Regions from separate parts of the Homo sapiens genome. Here regions 1, 2, 3, 4, 6 and 7 are each linked to region 5. The links are contacts of gene promoters, found by promoter capture Hi-C in blood cells and fetal thymus (Javierre and others, 2016). All regions are on one chromosome and are shown on one strand. The core of a region is centred on a gene start or on the middle of the fragment in contact, and the rest is flanking DNA. Distances in the headings are between cores, read along the strand shown. Region 1 overlaps IQGAP1 (IQ motif containing GTPase activating protein 1). Region 2 overlaps IQGAP1 (IQ motif containing GTPase activating protein 1). Region 3 holds the start of LOC124903555 (a long non-coding RNA gene). Region 4 overlaps CRTC3 (CREB regulated transcription coactivator 3). Region 5 holds the start of MAN2A2 (mannosidase alpha class 2A member 2). Region 6 overlaps IQGAP1 (IQ motif containing GTPase activating protein 1). Region 7 overlaps IQGAP1 (IQ motif containing GTPase activating protein 1).

What was found. Contacts are between HindIII fragments. The CHiCAGO score rates a contact against its expected background, and 5 or more counts as called.
Region 1: a fragment that was not itself captured here is called in contact with the fragment with the promoter of MAN2A2 in region 5 in 1 of 17 cell types (activated CD4 T cells); the score reaches 5.5 in activated CD4 T cells.
Region 2: a fragment that was not itself captured here is called in contact with the fragment with the promoter of MAN2A2 in region 5 in 3 of 17 cell types (M1 macrophages, activated CD4 T cells and erythroblasts); the score reaches 6.1 in M1 macrophages.
Region 3: a contact is called between a fragment that was not itself captured here and the fragment with the promoter of MAN2A2 in region 5, in 1 of 17 cell types (erythroblasts). The highest score is 5.3, in erythroblasts.
Region 4: a fragment that was not itself captured here is called in contact with the fragment with the promoter of MAN2A2 in region 5 in 6 of 17 cell types (monocytes, M0 macrophages, naive B cells and 3 more); the score reaches 6.7 in monocytes.
Region 6: a contact is called between a fragment that was not itself captured here and the fragment with the promoter of MAN2A2 in region 5, in 1 of 17 cell types (naive B cells). The highest score is 7.6, in naive B cells.
Region 7: a contact is called between a fragment that was not itself captured here and the fragment with the promoter of MAN2A2 in region 5, in 3 of 17 cell types (total B cells, naive B cells and activated CD4 T cells). The highest score is 6.1, in total B cells.

What each region holds. Positions count from the first base shown.
Region 1 is chr15:90,453,490-90,456,189 of GRCh38, forward strand. IQGAP1 (IQ motif containing GTPase activating protein 1) reads left to right here. Exons shown (of 38, transcript NM_003870.4): 14 at 939-1,063; 15 at 2,663-2,700. Among named protein-coding and RNA genes, the nearest start is that of IQGAP1, 67 kb to the left of the region's middle. RefSeq lists an enhancer at 2,662-2,700. The HindIII fragment of the contact is 613 bases long and covers 1,017-1,629 here.
Region 2 is chr15:90,497,191-90,500,005 of GRCh38, forward strand. IQGAP1 (IQ motif containing GTPase activating protein 1) reads left to right here. Exons shown (of 38, transcript NM_003870.4): 37 at 42-150; 38 at 2,805-2,815. Among named protein-coding and RNA genes, the nearest start is that of CRTC3, 31 kb to the right of the region's middle. The HindIII fragment of the contact is 2,106 bases long and covers 375-2,480 here.
Region 3 is chr15:90,595,600-90,598,340 of GRCh38, forward strand. All of the region lies in intron 3 of CRTC3 (CREB regulated transcription coactivator 3), which reads left to right. It overlaps LOC124903555 (a long non-coding RNA gene), which reads right to left and starts at 379. Exons shown (of 2, transcript XR_007064758.1): 1 at 292-379. RefSeq lists enhancers at 361-430, 2,598-2,741. The HindIII fragment of the contact is 4,338 bases long and covers 1-2,741 here.
Region 4 is chr15:90,560,310-90,563,093 of GRCh38, forward strand. All of the region lies in intron 2 of CRTC3 (CREB regulated transcription coactivator 3), which reads left to right. Among named protein-coding and RNA genes, the nearest start is that of CRTC3, 32 kb to the left of the region's middle. RefSeq lists an enhancer at 2,572-2,784. The HindIII fragment of the contact is 514 bases long and covers 1,046-1,559 here.
Region 5 is chr15:90,902,051-90,904,750 of GRCh38, forward strand. MAN2A2 (mannosidase alpha class 2A member 2) reads left to right here and starts at 1,252. Exons shown (of 23, transcript NM_006122.4): 1 at 1,252-1,382; 2 at 2,140-2,289. The coding sequence starts at 2,158. RefSeq lists enhancers at 293-342, 2,183-2,242 and silencers at 513-782, 803-1,232. The HindIII fragment of the contact is 23,300 bases long and covers 1-2,700 here.
Region 6 is chr15:90,475,358-90,478,057 of GRCh38, forward strand. It overlaps IQGAP1 (IQ motif containing GTPase activating protein 1), which reads left to right. Exons shown (of 38, transcript NM_003870.4): 24 at 1,306-1,461; 25 at 1,710-1,873; 26 at 2,308-2,532. Among named protein-coding and RNA genes, the nearest start is that of CRTC3, 53 kb to the right of the region's middle. The HindIII fragment of the contact is 160 bases long and covers 1,271-1,430 here.
Region 7 is chr15:90,437,271-90,439,970 of GRCh38, forward strand. It overlaps IQGAP1 (IQ motif containing GTPase activating protein 1), which reads left to right. Exons shown (of 38, transcript NM_003870.4): 6 at 2,062-2,129. Among named protein-coding and RNA genes, the nearest start is that of IQGAP1, 50 kb to the left of the region's middle. The HindIII fragment of the contact is 189 bases long and covers 1,173-1,361 here.

The DNA of each region.
Region 1 (2,700 bases), core at 73-2,572, 450 kb before region 5:
AAATATGTTACATAGTCAAAATAACACTATCTCTGACAAAGTTAAATAATACTTTTTAAATATCATCTAACCCTAGCTAGTTCATTTTCATTCTTCATTTGTTCCCAAACTGTCCTTTATAGCTGTTTTGTTGAAAACAAGATCTAGCCTAGGAACATGTATTATATCTGGCTGTTGTGTCCCTTGAGTATCTTTTAATCTAGAATTGTCCCTTTCTTCATGAGACTGACTTGTTAAAGGGATGGGACCAATTGCCTATTTTATGGATAGTTCTAGTTGCTTTCTCATATTTGCCTTATTCCTGTAAATTGGAAATTAAATTTCTAGGCTTGTCACGATTCAGTTCAACATTTTTGATGATGTGTATTTCATATTGCCTCATATCAATAGGCATATAAAACCCACTTTTCCCACCATCCCACCATTAGAGATACTAAGATTGATCCCTGGATTAGGGAGACCACTTATACTTCCATTGCGTATTTACGCTTTTCCCTCATCACTAGAACATCATCTCTTTTGCACCGTCAAAATATCTAGTTTTCCATTAAGCATTCACGTGATATTTTTAACCCAATTGATAATCTTTCCTAAATCAGTACCTTCAGTAAAAGTTGCTGAATGATGATTTGTTGCTCTGTCATTCCTCCTGCATTTATTAGCTCATGTGTAGCCTTTTTTTCTTGTCTATGGAGGAATTGCTTGAACTGCTGCCTTTAATTCTAGAGTTAGTCTTAACATGGAATTTAGAATATGTAACAGGATATTGAGAATAAGTGATTTCTGTTGCATTTTTGCACTTTGTTTAAAGTAACTGTGCAGTTCCAAAACTGGTCTTGAGAATATATCAAATGGTTGGGATACCCTAGCAATCTTTGTTCCTTGAATATTTAAACATGCTGTGCTTAATGCTCTTTTTACTTGGGGGTCTGGGGCAGGTATCTCGATGAGTTGATGAAACTGAAGGCTCAGGCACATGCAGAGAATAATGAATTCATTACATGGAATGATATCCAAGCTTGCGTGGACCATGTGAACCTGGTGGTGCAAGAGGAACATGAGAGTGAGTTATCTTCCTGTCCTCCCCAAATAATGTCACCATTAATGATGATGTGATTCCATGAAGTGGTTCAAAATACTACTCCTAGAAGGATTTTTGGGTGAGAGATTGAAAATATCTATATAACACAAAAGGCTAAAGTTGGATATTGTTTTGAGAACACCAGGCAATTGCTATAATTAGGTATATGTCCAGTAAGAACTAAATTTTGGGGGAGGTGAATTGAACATGATCTGTTATTTTTAAATGCTGTTATAACAAGTAGTCCTGACACTACATGGAATTAGGTTGAATTGCACAGGTTGTAGGCATGGTCCTCCACAAGACTCCTCTCACTTCAGACACAAGCTGAAAGCTGCAGGGTTCCCAGGCCACTGTACTTCTGAACAACTGGCTGCAAATTTGGAGGATCCCTTCTACCCGCTCAGGTTTAATAATTTGCTAGAATGACTCACAGAACTCAAGAAAATGCTAGACTTACGATTAAAATTTTATTACAAAATATGTAAATCAGGATCAGCTGAAAGAAGAGAATCATCAGGCAATATCTGTGAGAGTCCCCAATATGAAGCTTCTGTGTTCTCAGGATGTGTCACTCTCCTGGCACATTGACGTGTATCACCAACCAGGGAAACACACCTGAGTTTTGGGTGTCCAGAGTTTTTATTTGGGTTCGTTACATATGCGTGATTGATAGTATTGGCTTTGCGATTAAACTCAATTTTCATTTGGCCTCTGCTCCCTGGAGAATGGGAGGCCAGGCTGGTATCACGTGACTCTATACCTCAGTGGTTGATCTTTCCAGCATGGCCAGCCTCCATCCTTAAACTCTCATGAGGCCAACCAGGAGTCATTGGTTGGCATAAATTCAGGTGTGGGCGGAGGGGCCCACCATGAATCACAGAAACATACCTATCACTCAGGATATCCCAAGGGTCTTAGACGCTCCCCCAGAGACAAAGACCAGCCAGACTTTTTATTATACAGCAGAGTCCTTACAAAAGCAGTACGGCTGCCTAAGATACCTGGGGAGTGAACGTTCCTAATTTTAATTTGTATTTCCTGGGAGAAATATTCAACTGACTTGGTGGGAAGAGCCTTGCTTCGCATTAGGGAGCCCTGCGCTTGGATCTTTCTTCTGCCATTTGTTTGCTGTGTAATCTTGGAGAAGAGATTGCTAAGCCTTGTTATTTCTTCTATAAAAGTGTTGAATTAGATGACTTTTTAAGAACCCTTGAACCTTTTTAAGACTCTTCGTGAATCCTTTGTGACTCAAGAATGTTTTTGATTACACATTCCAGTGTACCTGAAAGCTATACAGTAAGGCCAGTTTCATAAAAATCCTCATCGCTTTTAAGTTAGAGCAATTAAAAATGAAACAAAAGGACTTGAGCATTCAATAGGAATATGAATACAAGTGAGTTTAGTTGAAATAAATACTAATTAAAAAATGAAAACAGTGCTGCTTAACGGATGGTAAGTTGCAGTTTGAATCATGGTTACTCTTAGGTGGATTTATGATTAGTTAGCATGTTCCATGATTGATTTGTTTATGTACTTCCTTAATTAGAAAAAAAAAACTTTCTGTCTCTTTATATTTAGGGATTTTAGCCATTGGTTTAATTAATGAAGCCCTGGAT
Region 2 (2,815 bases), core at 178-2,677, 400 kb before region 5:
GAATATAAAAACCATACCCTTACGATGTTATCTTTCAACAGGTTTAAAAATGTTATATTTGAAATCAGTCCAACAGAAGAAGTTGGAGACTTCGAAGTGAAAGCCAAATTCATGGGAGTTCAAATGGAGACTTTTATGTTACATTATCAGGTGGGTATGCACCAGCAGGAACCAAAAACTTTCTGGATGAGATTCTTGTCCAAGTAGGAGAAATAGATAAAGAGGAGACTCATCTGAGGAAAGCTGTCTACATTCAGCAGTGAGCTAGGCTCCACACTGCGGGGAAAGAAGCTGAGGGTTTCAGCATGTCTGGTTTGGTGTGTGCGCTCTGGAGAGCTTTTGCAGATGTCACTCTTCAGAAAACATTTAGCTGAAGCTTCCACTTAGTGCTGCCACTAAATCGAGCTGACACCTTGGACTTGAACAAAATGCAGAAGTACACATGCTGACACTGCAGAATTCTAAGCCCACTCAGTAGCTTGAAATCTTTTTGTCATTTTGATTTGATATAGGTACTTAAAAGTTAGATACATTCTGACAAGGTGTGTGTAAAGTTTATGTTTGTAAACTGAATTCTATCTTAAATCCAAAAAGAACTCGGGAGTAATTCATTTTTGTAGCATAAAGATCCCTAAGTTTTATTTTGAAATATCTGATTTTTACACGTTAAAAAATAACAGGGCATCGAGAGGATTCCTAGGTGACATCCAGACTCCTTTAGCTTTGTGTGTGTGGCACCGGTTAGTCTGCTTCTCTCTCCTTTCTTGCACTGCTTCACACAGCCATGCCCTGCCAGCCCGGGCAGGTGCCTTCCTGTCAATGTACATTTGGGCTTCTGCTCATGCTGCCCTCCCTCCCCTCCCCTGCCTCCCAACCCCGCCCCTTTTGTTCCTCCATGGAGTACTTCCATGGGTGTGCCTCCCCCAGCCAAGCCATAATAGGTGGTTTCCCCTTCGCTTCTGTAGCCCTTGCAGACATCCTCTGTTTACAGTAGGTGTTGACTTACTTCCCCTCTCCCCGCTAAAGCCATAAACTCCTTAAGGACAGGTAGCATTTCTTAGTCATCTTCGTTTCCTTCTCAATGACCAGTAGACCATTAAAACATGTTAGCTAAACAAATGTGAAATGATTTTGTGATGCACACAGCTAACTAAAGTACTTCCACCAAAAAAAAAAAAAGAATAGGAACCTCTTATTCCCTCAGTTTCACCAAATTATTTTTTTAATTTAAAATTTTTTATTTACGTGGAGTTATCAGAACATATTTTTATTTTTAAATTTTTTAACCAAATCATGTTAGGCCAACCAGTCTGCCTGTGGTAATTTATTAATTTATGTACAAATTCATTAAATGTGGGGTAACTGCCAGGTGTGGGGTATTCTGTTAGGCACAGGTCCCAGCAGCCCTCATGGAGCTGCTAGGATTTTTCCAACAGATAATTGAACTTGTGGGGTCCTTTCTTTTTTTGGAGGGGGGGGCAGAGTCTCGCCCTGTCTCCCAGACTGGAGTGTAGTGGCGTGTTCTCCATTCACTGCAACCTCCACCTCGTGGGTTCAAGTGATTCTCCTGCCTCAGCCTCCTGAGTGGCTGGGATTACAGGCGCACACCATCACGCCCGGCTAATTTTTTTTTTTTTTGAGACAGTTTCGCTCTTATTGCCCAAGCTGCAGTGCAATGGCACAATCTCGGCTCACTGCAACCTCCGCCTCCTGGGTTCAAGTGATTCTCCTGCCTCAGCCTCCTGAGTAGCTGAGAATATAGGCGTGCACCACCACGCCCCAACGCCCAGCTAATTTTTGTATTTTTAGTAGAAACAGGGTTTCGCCATGTTGGCCAGGCTGGTCTCTAACTCGTGACTTCGTGATCCGCCTGCCTCGGCCTCCCAAAGTGCTGGGATGACAGGCGTGAGCCACCACACCCGGCCTTGTGGGGTCCTTTCAAGACTTTTGACCCTTGCTTTCTCATCACCACTCTTATAAAGTTCAGAAGTGAGACCACTCAGATTTCTTAAACTTGTTCAGGACAATGGTGAAAGTAGCAGGAAAAGCGGGAGCATTGCAGTCAGATCTGGATTTATCGCCTCCATCTCTGTCCTGTTGTGCAAGTCATTTAACATCTCTGAGTCTCAGTAGCTCATCTTTAAAGTTAGAATAATCGCACCTCATAAAAATTTTTGTGAGGACTTTAAAAGATACTATGTAATGTGCTTACACAATGCCAAGCACATGGCAGACACCTAATAAAACATCAAGTTCTCTCTTTTCCCCTTGCCTTCGGGATAGAAAGTGTTCTCATATGGAATAGAAATTAAGAATCTATCAGATAGTATTAAGGTGACATTACTAGCCTTATCTCATTTCCCCGTGCTTAGTATATTTCATCATAGGTTTAAATGCTTCACCTTTTCCAGATTTATTAAAACTAGTGACCCATAACATGGATGAAATGGGAAAATGTCATTGTGACTTCTGAAATAAAAAGCTTAGATGTGTGTGGCAATTGAACATGTTTCTTTTTCTTTCCATGTATGATGAATTTTGATATGAACAACATGACTTCCTAACTCCAAATCAACCAGAAGCCTCCCTTGGCCAATGTGCCCTATTGCTCCAGCTCTCAGGCTGGTTGTGCAGTGGGTAGTTGCCTAGCGTGGAACTTTTCTTTCGCCCCAGTTCACATCTGGCACACAAGGCAGGCCTCAGTCCATCTGGATCCCTCCCTACATTGTGTCCTTTTTCCTTGTTCCACAGACTTGATTAACTGTCAAAATGTTTTGTTTTGTTTTGTTTTGTTTTGTTAATAGGACCTGCTGCA
Region 3 (2,741 bases), core at 242-2,741, 310 kb before region 5:
CTCAGTTCCCTCTTTTTCCTGTCAGTGCTCTCATTTCTATATATTAGATTAAACATTATGCTATATATACGTGTGTGTATGTATATGTGGCTATCTCAGATACTTTTGAAGTACGGTCTAAATGTATAAGCATGCATATAGTTTTACTAACCAAAATAGAGAAGGGAATTGAAGAAAAAAGAGGAGAATGTTTATTCACTTATAAAAATTATTTGTTAAGTATGTGCTAGTGGTCAGACACCGTTTTAGACATTTTAATTCACTGTAACAGTAAACAGCATGGTCCCTGACCTCAAGTTGCCCAGGGTTCAGTGGGAGAGGCTACTCAGCAAACAAGCAGCCACGGCAGGTATGGCGTCTGCAGGGAGGCAGCTCAGGGGCTGTGGGAGCACGTCGGAGGTGCAGCTTGAACTAGTCTGGGGAAACGAAGAAGGCATCCTGGGGGAACATCTGAGGCTTGAAGGATAAGAAGTAAGAGGATAAAGTGTTCATTCAGCAGATCTTTACAGAGCCCCGTCTCTGTGCCAGGCACTGTTCTAAGCACTGGGGACCCAGTGATGAATAAGGGAGGCATACTTCCTGCTTTCTTGAGTTCACAGTCCTGTGGGAGATGACAGCAAACAGGCAATAAGAAAGGAAAATGGTTTTAGATGGTAATGAGTGAGATTTAAGAGAGTAAAGCAGTTGGGAGGTATGTTCCAGGCAGAGGGAAGAGAATGTGGTGCAAAGTCCTACCCAGAAGGGGAGATGACTTCTTGTGTTCAGGGGACCCTATCTCTTATGATAGGGTATAATCTGGCACTGTATGGATCAACTTGAGAGCATAAGCAAAGCTAGTCAACTCCTAAAGGAAGGAGAAACAAAAACCAAGTTAATATGCAGAGAAATTAAAGTTATTAGACAGTATGAGTCAGATTCACTGATCATGAGCCATGTCTCTGTGGTCTCCTAAGCTCCTAAATTGGGTTCCTGGGACTGGACATCGGTTGATGCAAAGAAAGTTCTTTAGCCCAGTCTCTTTTGAGGAATCAAGGGTCCGTGAAATGGGATGATTTTATTTTGGTGTTAATCTATTCCACTTGGAGGAGGAGGGCTGTGATTCCGTCTTTGCTTTCACGACCTGCATTCTGTTGGTTGTGAAATAATCTGCTTAAAATTGTGGCCTTGAACATTTGTCTATGACTTTTTAAATGAAGTTTCTTCATTTGAAAGTATAAAACACTAGTTTGAATCTTTGTTAGAACAAAAGGAAAAAATCAGAATTATTATAGCTGTTTCTTGGCTTGGGTGTTATTTAAGACACACTGGCTTAGACAAGGGTTTTAAGGGTTCACTCCTATGATAGGGTGATCTCAAATAAAACGAACATTGTTTAACAAATACTCTGGCCTCCTCTCAGAGTGGGCAGCCACAGCACGCAGAGCTCTGCCACAGGAGATTCCTTCTGGAGTGGGCTTTGCCCTTGGCATGGGTGGCCACACAAGACCAAGGCACAGCTGCAGCTGGGCCCTGGCCTAGCCCCACACAGGCGGAGGAGAGGCACTGCCAGGGCTTGCTCCTGGCTGGGGGCCTGGGCTCGGGCACTTGGAAGAGAAGCTCTTCTGCCCTTCTGCAGATGTGCAGTCTGTAGCAGCCCTTCTTACTCTCACTCATCAAGGTTGGCAGACGTGCCGTGTCCCAAACACCATTGCTAAACTTCTGAACTATTAACATAAATTTATAGCAAATAAAATATTTTCTCAGCCTTGTGGATGACACGCTCAGAAGGAAACACGAAATGCCTTCCTTGAAAGGAAGTCAAGAGTTCACCAGCGTGAAGGGTCGTGAAGAGATGCCTAAGACCTACTAGAGTTAGGAATGATTCTCCTCTCTGGGCTGGGCCTTGCTTTGATTCTTTTCATCATAATGAGATGAAAATGTTAGGACATTGGTTTATAGGACACTGTTTCTTTGAGATGCATGGCCTATTACATTTGAGAAACACCATACTCTGTATCACCTCTTGGAGCCTGACCGTATATATCAGGGCTCTGAAAAGTCCTGCAGTTAATAAACTTCTTATCTTTAACCCAGAATTTCAAAACTTAAGTGATCACAAAATCCAACTGTTACCTAACACCCGTCTTATCTTGAAGGACAAGGAAACATTGGTCTTTAGAATTTTAAGGGGGAAATATTCTGACTTCACAATACCACATGCAACCTGTTTGCCTCTCATTTGCTGAGGGAAACAGGATGTTCTTATAAATGCAAGGACTCAAAAAGATGCCACTCATATCCTCCCTTACAGTTTCACTTTAAGATGTCTTCTAGTGGGACATAGTTAGAGGTAAAGGGACAAAAAGAAGTAGAATGACAATAAACACATGGCTGAGCAATCAGGAAGGAGCCAAATTGTGGCCAGTTTTATATATTAAATCTGACCCTGAAACTTGTCTTGGTAGGTGGGTTCTGTTAACCAGACTCCGAGCCCACTTACCCCACCAGCTACATGGAAGGTCTCAGGCCTGCCCCACAAACTGTGTCCCTGGCAGAACACAGAGTTCCAGAGCAGGAGAGAAATGACTGGCTTCCAGGCTGCCCCGACAAGGCAGTTCCTGAGCCCTGCCCAGGTACACTGACCGCACAGGGACGGGAAGCCAAGAGAAGGGAACCCTGGGCCTGCTCACCCAGCCGCAGGTCAAGCAGCACAAAGAAAGGGCCAGGGCGGGTCTTGTTTTCAGCTTCTGTGGCTCAGTAAC
Region 4 (2,784 bases), core at 53-2,552, 340 kb before region 5:
GTTCTACCAGATTCTTGAAAGAGAATGTGTTTTCTCAGAGCCAAGTAGACCCAAACATTTCCCAGACTTTGGCCACATAATCAGAAATTTCAAAAGAGTTCTGGAATTTGTGGGCTTAGCTCCAAGTTACCAGGCATCCGTTGTCTTCCCTGTGGGCAGAATTCGCTTTTAGCTTACTCCACCCTCCTCAGCTACGCAGCATGATTGGGGCAGACGATGAATACTTCAGATATCCCCTGTGGGGTTAACTCCAGAGGCAGCCTCAGAAACTAGACACATAATTCATATGGTCAAAACCTGGCAGGCTCTTCTGAAATCGTGTGACTTCCTATCAGGCCACCAGCTCTGCAGATCCTCAAAGGTCTGGCTGTCAGAACAATAGGGAATGAGAGCAGCGCCCAGATGCTGCCTGCTGGAGCTGCAGGTCCTGTTTGAGTCTGAACAATAAAAGTCCTGGAATGAATTACCAAGGCTCCTGATTGCACCCTGCAGGTTCAGGTTTAGTTTGTGGAGATGTCTCACATAAGAACTGTCTTGTAAGCCGCTTGGGGGGTTCAACAAAATTGGTCAACAAAATTTAATACCATACAAGCCCTTTTCTTGATCAAGCAATTTAGTAAGTCTCTGTCATAAGTCTCTATGACCTGCCATCCAATATGTCAAAATAAACAAAATTTTCATGTTGATGGTCACAAGTGCAGTCCCTAGAGTGGGGATCTGGTGACCACTTCCACCACTAACTAGCACTGGATCGTAGACAAGATCGTTAGTCTCTCTGTGTCTCAGCTCACTCATCTGCAAGATGTGGCTACTAATAGTACCTAAGATAGAGCTATTGGGAGGATTAAGTTAGGTAATGCATGTAAATCCTTAGAATAATGCCCAGCACAGTTGTTGTTCAATACATATTGCAAAGTTCCTAGTATAAACTCCCTGTTGCAGCCTTCTAATTTGACTTCAATAGATTGTTGGTACCATTTGCCTCTTTCTTTGCAGGTATCCTACCTAGGCCTAGAGAACTAAGCTTTTGCTGTTCATTATATGAAGCTTCTTAAATGTCATACAGGCTAGTTGCATCCTACTAATTCTTCACAGACTAGATAAAAATACTTTTGCTGAAGTCTTAATCGGCCTGTCCTGAAGTCAACCAGGCTGTATGTTAGTGCCTTGACTCAGTGCAGCTTTCAAGAGAGGCAGAAAGAATACCCACAGAGAAGGCACATGTGGGCGGTGGCAGTGTAGGACCAGGAAAGAAGCTAGGTCTCTATATTCCCTCGCATTTTGAATCTGTGTTAAATTCAATCATATTAGTATGAAGCAATCCTCTTACCTATCTCCTTAATCCAGCCTCTGACTGCCAGCTCACAAAAGAGGGAGAAGAGGCACTACATTTAAAGTAGTGATTATCTCTAACTAGAATTTTAAGTCCCTACATGTTTTGGCTGTAGAACCAGCCAAAGTTTTGTTCCAATTCCCTACAAAATTTCACAATAGTCAGGAGTTAGAATTGGTCCCTATGTTATGAAACAGCTAGTTTTTATACTTTAAACTTAAAATGAAGCTTTAGTTGTTTATTATTACTGTGGATATTTTCCAAGAGACAGAATAACATCTGTGGAAGATTCTACACAGGCCTTGATGCCAGACATTGTAATTATTTCCCTGCTCAAAGGCAATAGTCAGTGCCTCAAGGAACTCCCTGGCTATAAGCAGTTGGCTGCCTCGACAACAGATAGCTAATGTCTTAGCTCTTTTCTGTCTCTACCGCCAGCCTCTTGGGGATGTGACTTGAGAAAGCTCTCCCCTCCCCATTTTCTCCTGTAACCTCTTTGGAGGAAGTCACCAGGGTAACCACTTTCTTTTATGCTAGTTTTCTTGAGTGCAAGGGAAAACACTTCCCCACAGACATATGACAGAAGTTTAAGAGTGGTGAGGAGAAGAACACGAACAGTTACTGAGTACCTGAGCTATGCTTTGTGTACCTGATATCATTGAGTTCCCACATCAACCTTCTGAGATAGGCATTATCATCCCCATTTTACTGATGCTTAAACAGTAACATGCCCAAGGTCACACAAGTGGCAAGTGACAGTCAGGACTCAAACCCAGGTTTATCTTTCTCGGGCCTTTGCTCTTATTTTGCAAATTAAGCAAGTGTAGACACACAAAACCAATTTGTTTTTACCTAGGAAACGTGTTTTATGCTTTGTTTTTCTCAGTCTGGATAGATGCCGTTTTCTAGTCCCCTGGAACCATCGTATGCCCAGTTTAGTACCACTTTTGTTTGGTTTCTCGTCTTAGAATATATTCTGCTTATTCACTCCCCCGGCCACCTGAGAAATCTTTTTACTACTTTTAGTCCAAATCAAACTTTCCTTCCCTTGACTACCTAGGAAGTCTCTCCTTGGGTGAGTCTTAACTCGCCTGAACTGAGAGTCTCACCCTGGAACTTGGTTAAGAAAGGCCAGAGTTGGGAGGCAACAGCCTGGATGGAAGAGGGGGGTCAGTTGACACTGGAGGGGGCAAGCCAGACCAGCCGCAAGCAGGAGCCAAAAGGTCAGAAAGCCAGTGAGAATGGGGTGGGCCAACAGGAGCAGACCAGGCCACACAGGCTGTGACTCCCCCTTGCAGTGGCTGCTGGGCACTGGCCATGCCTGTGCTTGTCTCTCTCAGTATCTCTTACTCTGCCATCTTGTCATTCATGAAATTGCTCAAGAGACGCTTTCTACCAGTCCGTGCCTGCTTAGTCTCCGAGAAGTTTTGGGGGTTCATTTAGAATTAATT
Region 5 (2,700 bases), core at 2-2,501:
TTCATGAGAGCTCTCCCTTCAAACTCTGTTCACCCCCAAAGGCCCATCTCCTAATACCATCATCACCTTGAGGGATTAGGATTTGAACATGAATTTGGGGGGTCACATTCAGATAATGTTATATATAACTTAAAAAGAACAAAAATGTGGAATTCATGGAGATGTTCATTGCAGTATGGATTACACTGAAAAACTGTAAACAACCTAGATGCCCAGTAAAAGGGAAACAGCCAAGAAAAGTCTGTGTCTTGTTCACTCGCTGGCAGGAAACATAGAGCAGGCACGGAAAGGAAAGGGACTCGAGGAATGCGCTGTACCGACAGGAGGCAGCACCCCTTTGCCCGAGGGGCGCAACGACAGAGACCTAAGGCTACCTGGGCCGGAGCCGGGTGAGGCCGCGGAGAACGCACCCCGCTACGCGTCTGCCGAGACGGAGGCGGGCGTTTCGACCACTGCCCGATCATGCGCTTACTCAAGTAGGATTCCGAAAAAATTCAGTCGCGCGTCCCTCCTGAGGTTCCGCAGCTGGCCAGGCCCGGCCCGGGCTGGTGCGGCTGCGCACTGCAGCCCAGCGGAGCGGGCCCGGGAGGAGCCGGGCGGGGACCGCGGCGGCCAGAGCTCCTGTCAGCTCCGCCGGGCACACGCAGGCCGGGGCGGGCGGCGCGGCTGTCCCCGCCCCGCACGCTGCTGGGCCCGGCAGCTTCAGAGGCTGGCGGACCCGCGCGGGGCCGGCGCAGCGGAGCGCGCCGGCGGCCCGGGGCCCAGCGGGAGCGCGGCAGCGGCGCGCGGAGCAGGGGGCTACGGGTGGGCGGGCGCCCGCCTTCGCCTGCGTCGCTGCCTGCACGCGGGCCGCCGTCCCCGGGCGTGTGAGAGCCGGCAGCTCGGCCGACTGGGCCCGGAGCGGCGCGGAGGCCGGGCGCTGACGGTAACGGGCCGGGTGCGCGCGCGGGAGGGCTCCGGCTGCCCCGACAGAGGCCGGGCTCGGGCGGCGGGAGTGCGAGCGCCACTGCGGCGTCAGAGGGGCCAGGAAGGGACAGGAGGCTGCCTGAGGCCCGTACCTGGCGCCTGTCTCTGCGGTCCCCGGGGCCGACGAAGTCGGAGCGGGTGGGGAGGGAGCCGGGCGGGCGGCCAGAGACCTGGCGGCAGGTGCCTGCCCTCTGTGATCCAACTCTCTCCCCAGCTCCACCCACATTGGCCTAGACCCAGTCTCTAAGGGCTGAAAATATTGCCCGGAAGCTCCCGAGCAGAATCAGATCGCGCTAAGTAGGGCACAACGCAGAGGCGACAAAGCTCCTCGGCCCCAGGGCCCGCGGAGCAGACTCCGGAGCGCGGTCCCGCCCACGCTCGGCTCCGCAGTTAGCGTCCTCCTTCCTCCTGAGCAGGCAAGCGGAGCCCGAGGGCGGTGGCGGCGGGGGGCACGGGTCCCCTGAAGTTGCCTCGCAGCTGAGCACTGGGCCCCGTCTCTCCCTTCCCAGGGGGCCTTCGGCGTCACTGCAGGCTTCCTAGGGGTCCCCTAAGTGCTCTGCAAACCGCGGCTGGAAGTTTCCCACTGCAGTGAACAGTAGAGAAACAGGGAGAACACACAGGGCTTGCTTTATGCTAGAAACACAAGCATCTTTCTTCTTTATTAGAAAGAAACTCATTCTGTGTTTCTGAGAAAGGATCGTGCCAGGCACTGTTTCTGGTGAGTGCCAGTTTGACCCGAAAGGGCACTGAGAAAGGCTTTCCTATCAGTCTCTTTGGGTTCTGGCTAAACTTTTAAATCAAACAAAATAGAGACTAGCTTATTCACCTGAAACTAGAAGCACATGGCCGAGGAGCCTGAACAGGCACCTCCTATCTAGGCAGGGAAGCTGTGTAATCAGGAGCTTGTGTGGTGCGCTCCAGTCGGAGCTGGGACTCTTATCCTGGGCCCGTTTTTCATAGCACCAGCCAAAGGAGAGCGTCCTCTCCACCCTAGCGGCAGAGCTGCTACCAGGACCAGGTGGGCCAGCCTCAGATGTGCTGCTTGTGCTACTTGGAGCCAGGCAAATGGGTGTTCCTTTGGAACAGCCCTCAGGAACTCACTGGGGTATTTGGTGGAAAGACTGCCACGGGCATTTTGCATGTTGGAGCTACAGATGGTGTCCTTCCTGCCAGGTGTGTGTGGAGGCCAGTATGAAGCTGAAAAAGCAGGTGACAGTGTGTGGGGCTGCCATCTTCTGTGTGGCAGTCTTCTCGCTCTACCTCATGCTGGACCGAGTGCAACACGATCCCACCCGACACCAGAATGGTGGGAACTTCCCCCGGGTGAGTCGTGCCTGGTTGCTAATTTCTTTGTATACAAGTCACCTGGGCTCAGGGTATGCACCTCCCACCCCGCCGCCTCCCCTCCCACCCCCCGCTGGAGGGTAATGTCAGTACAGGACAGGAGCCTTCCTTCCCAATAGTCAGGTTTTGTAGAAACCCTCAGCTAAAAACAGTGATGGCGAAAAGAAGGAAGGAAGAAAAAATGTCAATGGCAATGAGTATTGTCACTCTGTTCTCCTGAATTCTTTTCTTTCTTTTTTTTTTTTTTGAGACAGAGTCTCGCTCTGTCGCCCAGCCTTGAGTGCAGTGGCGCGATCTTGGCTCACTGCAACCTCCGCCTCCCAGGTTCAAGCAATTCTCCTGCCTCAGCCTCCCAAGTAGCTGGGACTACAGGAGCCTGCCACCATGCCC
Region 6 (2,700 bases), core at 101-2,600, 430 kb before region 5:
CCTGGCCTCAAGTGATTGATCCACTCACCTTGGCTTCCCAAAGTGCTGGGATTACAAACATGAGCCACCATGCCCGGCCATCATAAGCTTTTAAAAAAGTTATGTAAGACAGGTCAGGCATGATGGCTCACACCTATAATCCCAGCACTTTGGGAGGCCGAGAAGGGCGGATCACTTGAAGCCAGGAGTTTGAGACCAGCCAGGCCAACATGGTGAAACCCTGTCTCTACTAAAAATTAAAAAAAATTAGCTGGACATGGTAGTACATGCCTGTAATTTCAGCTACTCAGGAGGCTGAGGTGGAAGAATCGCTTGAACCTGGGAGGCAGAGGTTGCAGTGAGCCAAGATTGCATGACTGCACTCCGGACTGGGTGACAGAGTGAAACTCTATCTCCAAAAAAAAAAAAAAAAAAAAAATTATTTAAGACATAAAACAACTTAATTGACAAAATTTTGATAGAGAAAAGAAGATAAATGTCTTCCCCTAATTTCACCTACCCCAGTCATTTTGTATCTTACATTCTTACTTCATATTAAAGGATAAGACTCTTTCCCTATGATAAGTAGTCATAATTTTTTTTTAATTTTATTTTTTGAAACAGAGTTTCCCTCTGTACCCCAGGCTGGAGTGCAGTGGCATGATCATGACTCACTGCAACCTCGACCTCCTAGGCTCAAGTGATTCTCCCACTTCAGCCTCTCAAGTAGCTAGGACGACAGGTGCATGCCACCACGTCTGGCAAATTATATTTTTATAAGAGATAGGGTATCTTTGTATTGCCCAGGCTGGTCTCAAAACTCCTGGGCTCAGGTGATCCTCCTGCCTCAGCCTCCCAAAGTGCTGGGATTACAGGTGTGAGCCGCTGCACCCAGCCATAAATATTATTTTTAACAGTAGCATATTAGATTTTTAGAAGATATACTATGATTTACCTCTTTTTCCCCTAGTATTTGACATTTAGGTTGTTTTCCAAGCGTTTATTATAAATAACATTGCAATTAATGTTTCAATATATATGTAGCTTTTATTGTATTTAAGACTTATTTTTATAATAGACTGCTGGAAGTTGGTTTGCCAATTCAGTGGACATTCTTATGGCTCAGATTCTTTGTTGGAACATAGGAATGGATTTGACTGGTGTACTGAAAACAGGATAAAGTGTAGTGGTTTTTAAATATTCAGTGGGAATCTGCCAGTGCAGTACACCTTCATGTGAGTTTGCACATGCTGCAAAACCTTTCCTCAATGCCCAGAGGTTCATCTTTGAAAGCTTTCTGATCTATTTATTGGTTTTTGTTTATAGGATGTGGTTTCCCACAGTAAAAAACTTACCAAAAAAAATAAGGAACAGTTGTCTGATATGATGATGATAAATAAACAGAAGGGAGGTCTCAAGGCTTTGAGCAAGGAGAAGAGAGAGAAGTTGGAAGCTTACCAGCACCTGTTTTATTTATTGCAAGTAAGTGGCTCCTGGAATCAGTGTTATAAAAATTTAGTGAATTTATTTTTCCACAAGAAAGCCTTACCATCGATCTCTCTGGAAGTATTTTTGACTTCCACTGAGGGGTGAGTGAGGGGCACTGTAACATGTTAATTTATTAATCTTTTTTCTCATATGTATTGTAGTCCTTCAATTTTAAATAATTGAATATATCTTGCCAGCCTTTATATTACCTACAAATGACTTATCCCTTGGTTTTATTTCAGACCAATCCCACCTATCTGGCCAAGCTCATTTTTCAGATGCCCCAGAACAAGTCCACCAAGTTCATGGACTCTGTAATCTTCACACTCTACAACTACGCGTCCAACCAGCGAGAGGAGTACCTGCTCCTGCGGCTCTTTAAGACAGCACTCCAAGAGGAAATCAAGTATGAACAGATTTCCTCAGGGCACAGGCCCCTTCCCACTATCAGAGGGGCTCCCAGTTTGAGATTCATGCCTTCCTGATCTTTTCTTGATCTCAATTAATTTATGAAAAATACTTACTCTAAAGAAGCATCTAATTTTTAAATAACTGATATAAAATCTTGCTGCTTCTAGGGAAGGGATAAATTAACTTTAGGAACATTCTGTATTAAGGTATAATTTCAAAAAGTAATCTGAACAGAAAGAATTCACATTTTTATCTAGTAGCGGACCCAATCATGACCACGATTGAGCGTGCAGCTGCAGGAACATTCTGTGAGTGCTGGGGAATGTTTCGAGAGAAACTGTTTCAGGGAGATAGGATCTTTAAGCAGGAAGGATCTTTTAAGTTGATGGGTTTTGTGACAAGTTTAAATTTTTATCTGATGTTTTATAGGTCGAAGGTAGATCAGATTCAAGAGATTGTGACAGGAAATCCTACGGTTATTAAAATGGTTGTAAGTTTCAACCGTGGTGCCCGTGGCCAGAATGCCCTGAGACAGATCTTGGCCCCAGTCGTGAAGGAAATTATGGATGACAAATCTCTCAACATCAAAACTGACCCTGTGGATATTTACAAATCTTGGGTTAATCAGATGGAGTCTCAGACAGGAGAGGCAAGGTATGTTAACCATAATGACACTTTTCTTTCATGTTGTTATAGTCTTTCCCTCTTTTTTCCCCTCTCTTTATTTATAAACTAATATTAGTTCAAATAGTTTTTCTTTTCTTTTCTTTTTTTAGACAGAGTTTCACTCTTGTCGTCCAGGCTGGAGTACAGTGGCATAAT
Region 7 (2,700 bases), core at 17-2,516, 460 kb before region 5:
CCAATCACCTCTCACCAGGCCCCCACCTGGGGATTACAATTTGACATGAGATTTGGACAGGGACACAGACCCAAACCATATCAGCAACATTCTTGAACTTTCTTAAAATTTCTTGTTCGCTATTTCCAAGTAGGAATAAATGAGAAAGAAATTCTTGGAGAAAAATATTCTCTTAATTAAGAATGCAGATGTGATGTATTAGTGAGAAAAATATATAAAAAATATATAAAAATGTATAAAAATATATAGAAAGTTATTAGTTATTTTGCTTTGGAATTTCTTTTTTAAAGAGGCAGGGTCTTACTCTTTTGCCTAGGCTGGAACGCAGAGGTGTGATCTTGACTCATTGTAACAACCTCCCAGGCACAAGCTATCCTCCTGCCTTAGCCTCCCAAATGGCTAGGACTACAGGCATGCACCACCATACCTGGCTAATTAAGAAATTTTTTTTGTAGAGACAAGTCTTGCTATGTTGCTCAAGCTGTTTTGAATTCCTGACCTCAAGCTATCCTCCTGCCTCTCTTTCTCAAAGTACTGGAATTACAGGTGTGAGCCACTACACCCAGTCTGGAGAATTTTTTGAATACATTTAAAATCTTCTGAGACAGGCGCTTTATATATCCATCTTGAGTCTTTTACCTGAAAGAAAAGCATTTAATCATATACACATGACTTATACTTGCACTTCTCTGAGAAAATGTTTAGCTTCTGTGGATGTATAAATTCTAGTGTGTTTTGAGAATACTTGATTTTTGTTTTTCTATTATACATTTGGGTTTATTATATACAATTTAAATTTTGATCAGTTCTGTGATTGCAGTGTACATGATGCGTGTTTGTATTTAGATGATATTGAGGTTTATAGATTATTTACAAAAACTGTATACCACTTTAAGTTTCTATGATTTATTTCTTATATATTTCTTATTTCCCTGCTTACTTTAAACTGTCAATATCTTGCTTTTGTCAGTATCTGTAAAGTACCCTTCTGATCTCTTCTAATTTATTGATTCTGATCAGTTAGGGCTTTAGAATCCACTTAATAACACAGGCTTATGGACATTAATTTATCCGTCCATCCATCTGTCAAATATTGATTAATGTTTATTAATATATGCTAGGCTCTGGGTAAACATTAGTGAATGAGCCCTGTATTGTCCCTGCTTTCATGAAGCTTAGAGTCTAGTTGATTTTTTTTTAAGTTTAAAAAGTAAAAATAATTTTCACCAACCTGATAATTAAAAAGTAAAAATATATGAAATATTCTTTATCTAAAACTGTTAAATTACCTGGATTAAACTTTTCCATCAGTAATATGAATTCAGTTTAAGTAAGATTTGCCATCTGAATCATTTTTATGAAGCTTTTCTAAAATGTCTTATTATTTAAAACTTATTGATTACAGGAAGGCAAACAAATGAAGAGACACTTCACATTATATTAACATTAATGTTAACATCTTTTTTTTTTTTGAAACGGAATCTCACACTGTTGCCCAGGCTGGAGTACAGTGGTGTGATCTCGGCTCACTGCAGCCTTTGCCTCCCAGGTTCAAGCAATTCTCCTGCCTCAGCCTCCTGAATAGCTGGGATTACAGGCACATGCCACCACGCCTGGCTAATTTTTGTATTTTTAGTAGAGACAGGGTTTTGTCATGTTGGCCAGGCTGGTCTCAAGCTCCTGATGTCAGGTGATCCGCCCACCTCAGCCTCCCAAAGTGCTGGGATTACAGGCATGAGCCACTGTGCCTGGCCATTAACATCTAATTATGCATTGAGTTTGTGCCAGAACCGGGACTTTAATTTGTGCCTACTGATTTCTCCCAGTCCAGTGCTCTTTGCATTGTGTTATGTGACTTTTTAGGACAATGTTGTCATGTAAACTAAAAAAAAAAAACTGAGGTAAATAGCGTATTGTAACTACAAAGGAGACTGTCGTAGGTACTGGGAGTCTCAGTGTTCAGAATACTTCTATTTTATACTTCATGCTGATTTTCGCCTTTTAAGGGTGGCAGCTAGGCACAGCTGGGAGGCCTAACCTTTTGCATATTGTATCTTCTAGTTTGTACCTGTTCAAGCTAGGCCTGGCCCCTCAGATTCAAGACCTATATGGAAAGGTTGACTTCACAGGTAAGGAGTTAGATACTTGGCAGGAAATGCTTGAATTATGTGGAAATAGCCTGGAGAGCCAGCAGTACCAATTTTGAAGACCTAGGGCTTTAAAAATACACTGGCAGTGGAGGTGAAAAAAATACGAATAACTTGCTTCTCTAATGTGGGGTAAAGAACACTAAACTTGAAATTTCAAGCTCTGTTCTCTCACTTAATAATGTGAACATGATTAGTGAGTCTCAGTTTTCTTATATGTAAATTGGGGATAACATTAACATATATAAAACATAATAATGTTAACACATAACACTAAATGTTCGGGTATGTTGAAAAAAGCTTTATAACTATCTTTCCCTTTCCATTCCAGCAAGCATCTGTTGTGGGCAAAGCAAGAGGGAGAGTGGGGAGTGAGATGACACAAAGATGCCAATTTAGTAATTTTAAAATTTAAGCTTATTTGGGTGGGTGTTTCTATGTGTATTTGCTATAGCCAGATGCTTGAAGAGATGAGGGGTTGGGGAGAAAAAGGGCAGTGGTAATACTGTTTAAGGGTAAGATAGATTCAAGTCTTTCAAAGTGGTGATTATTT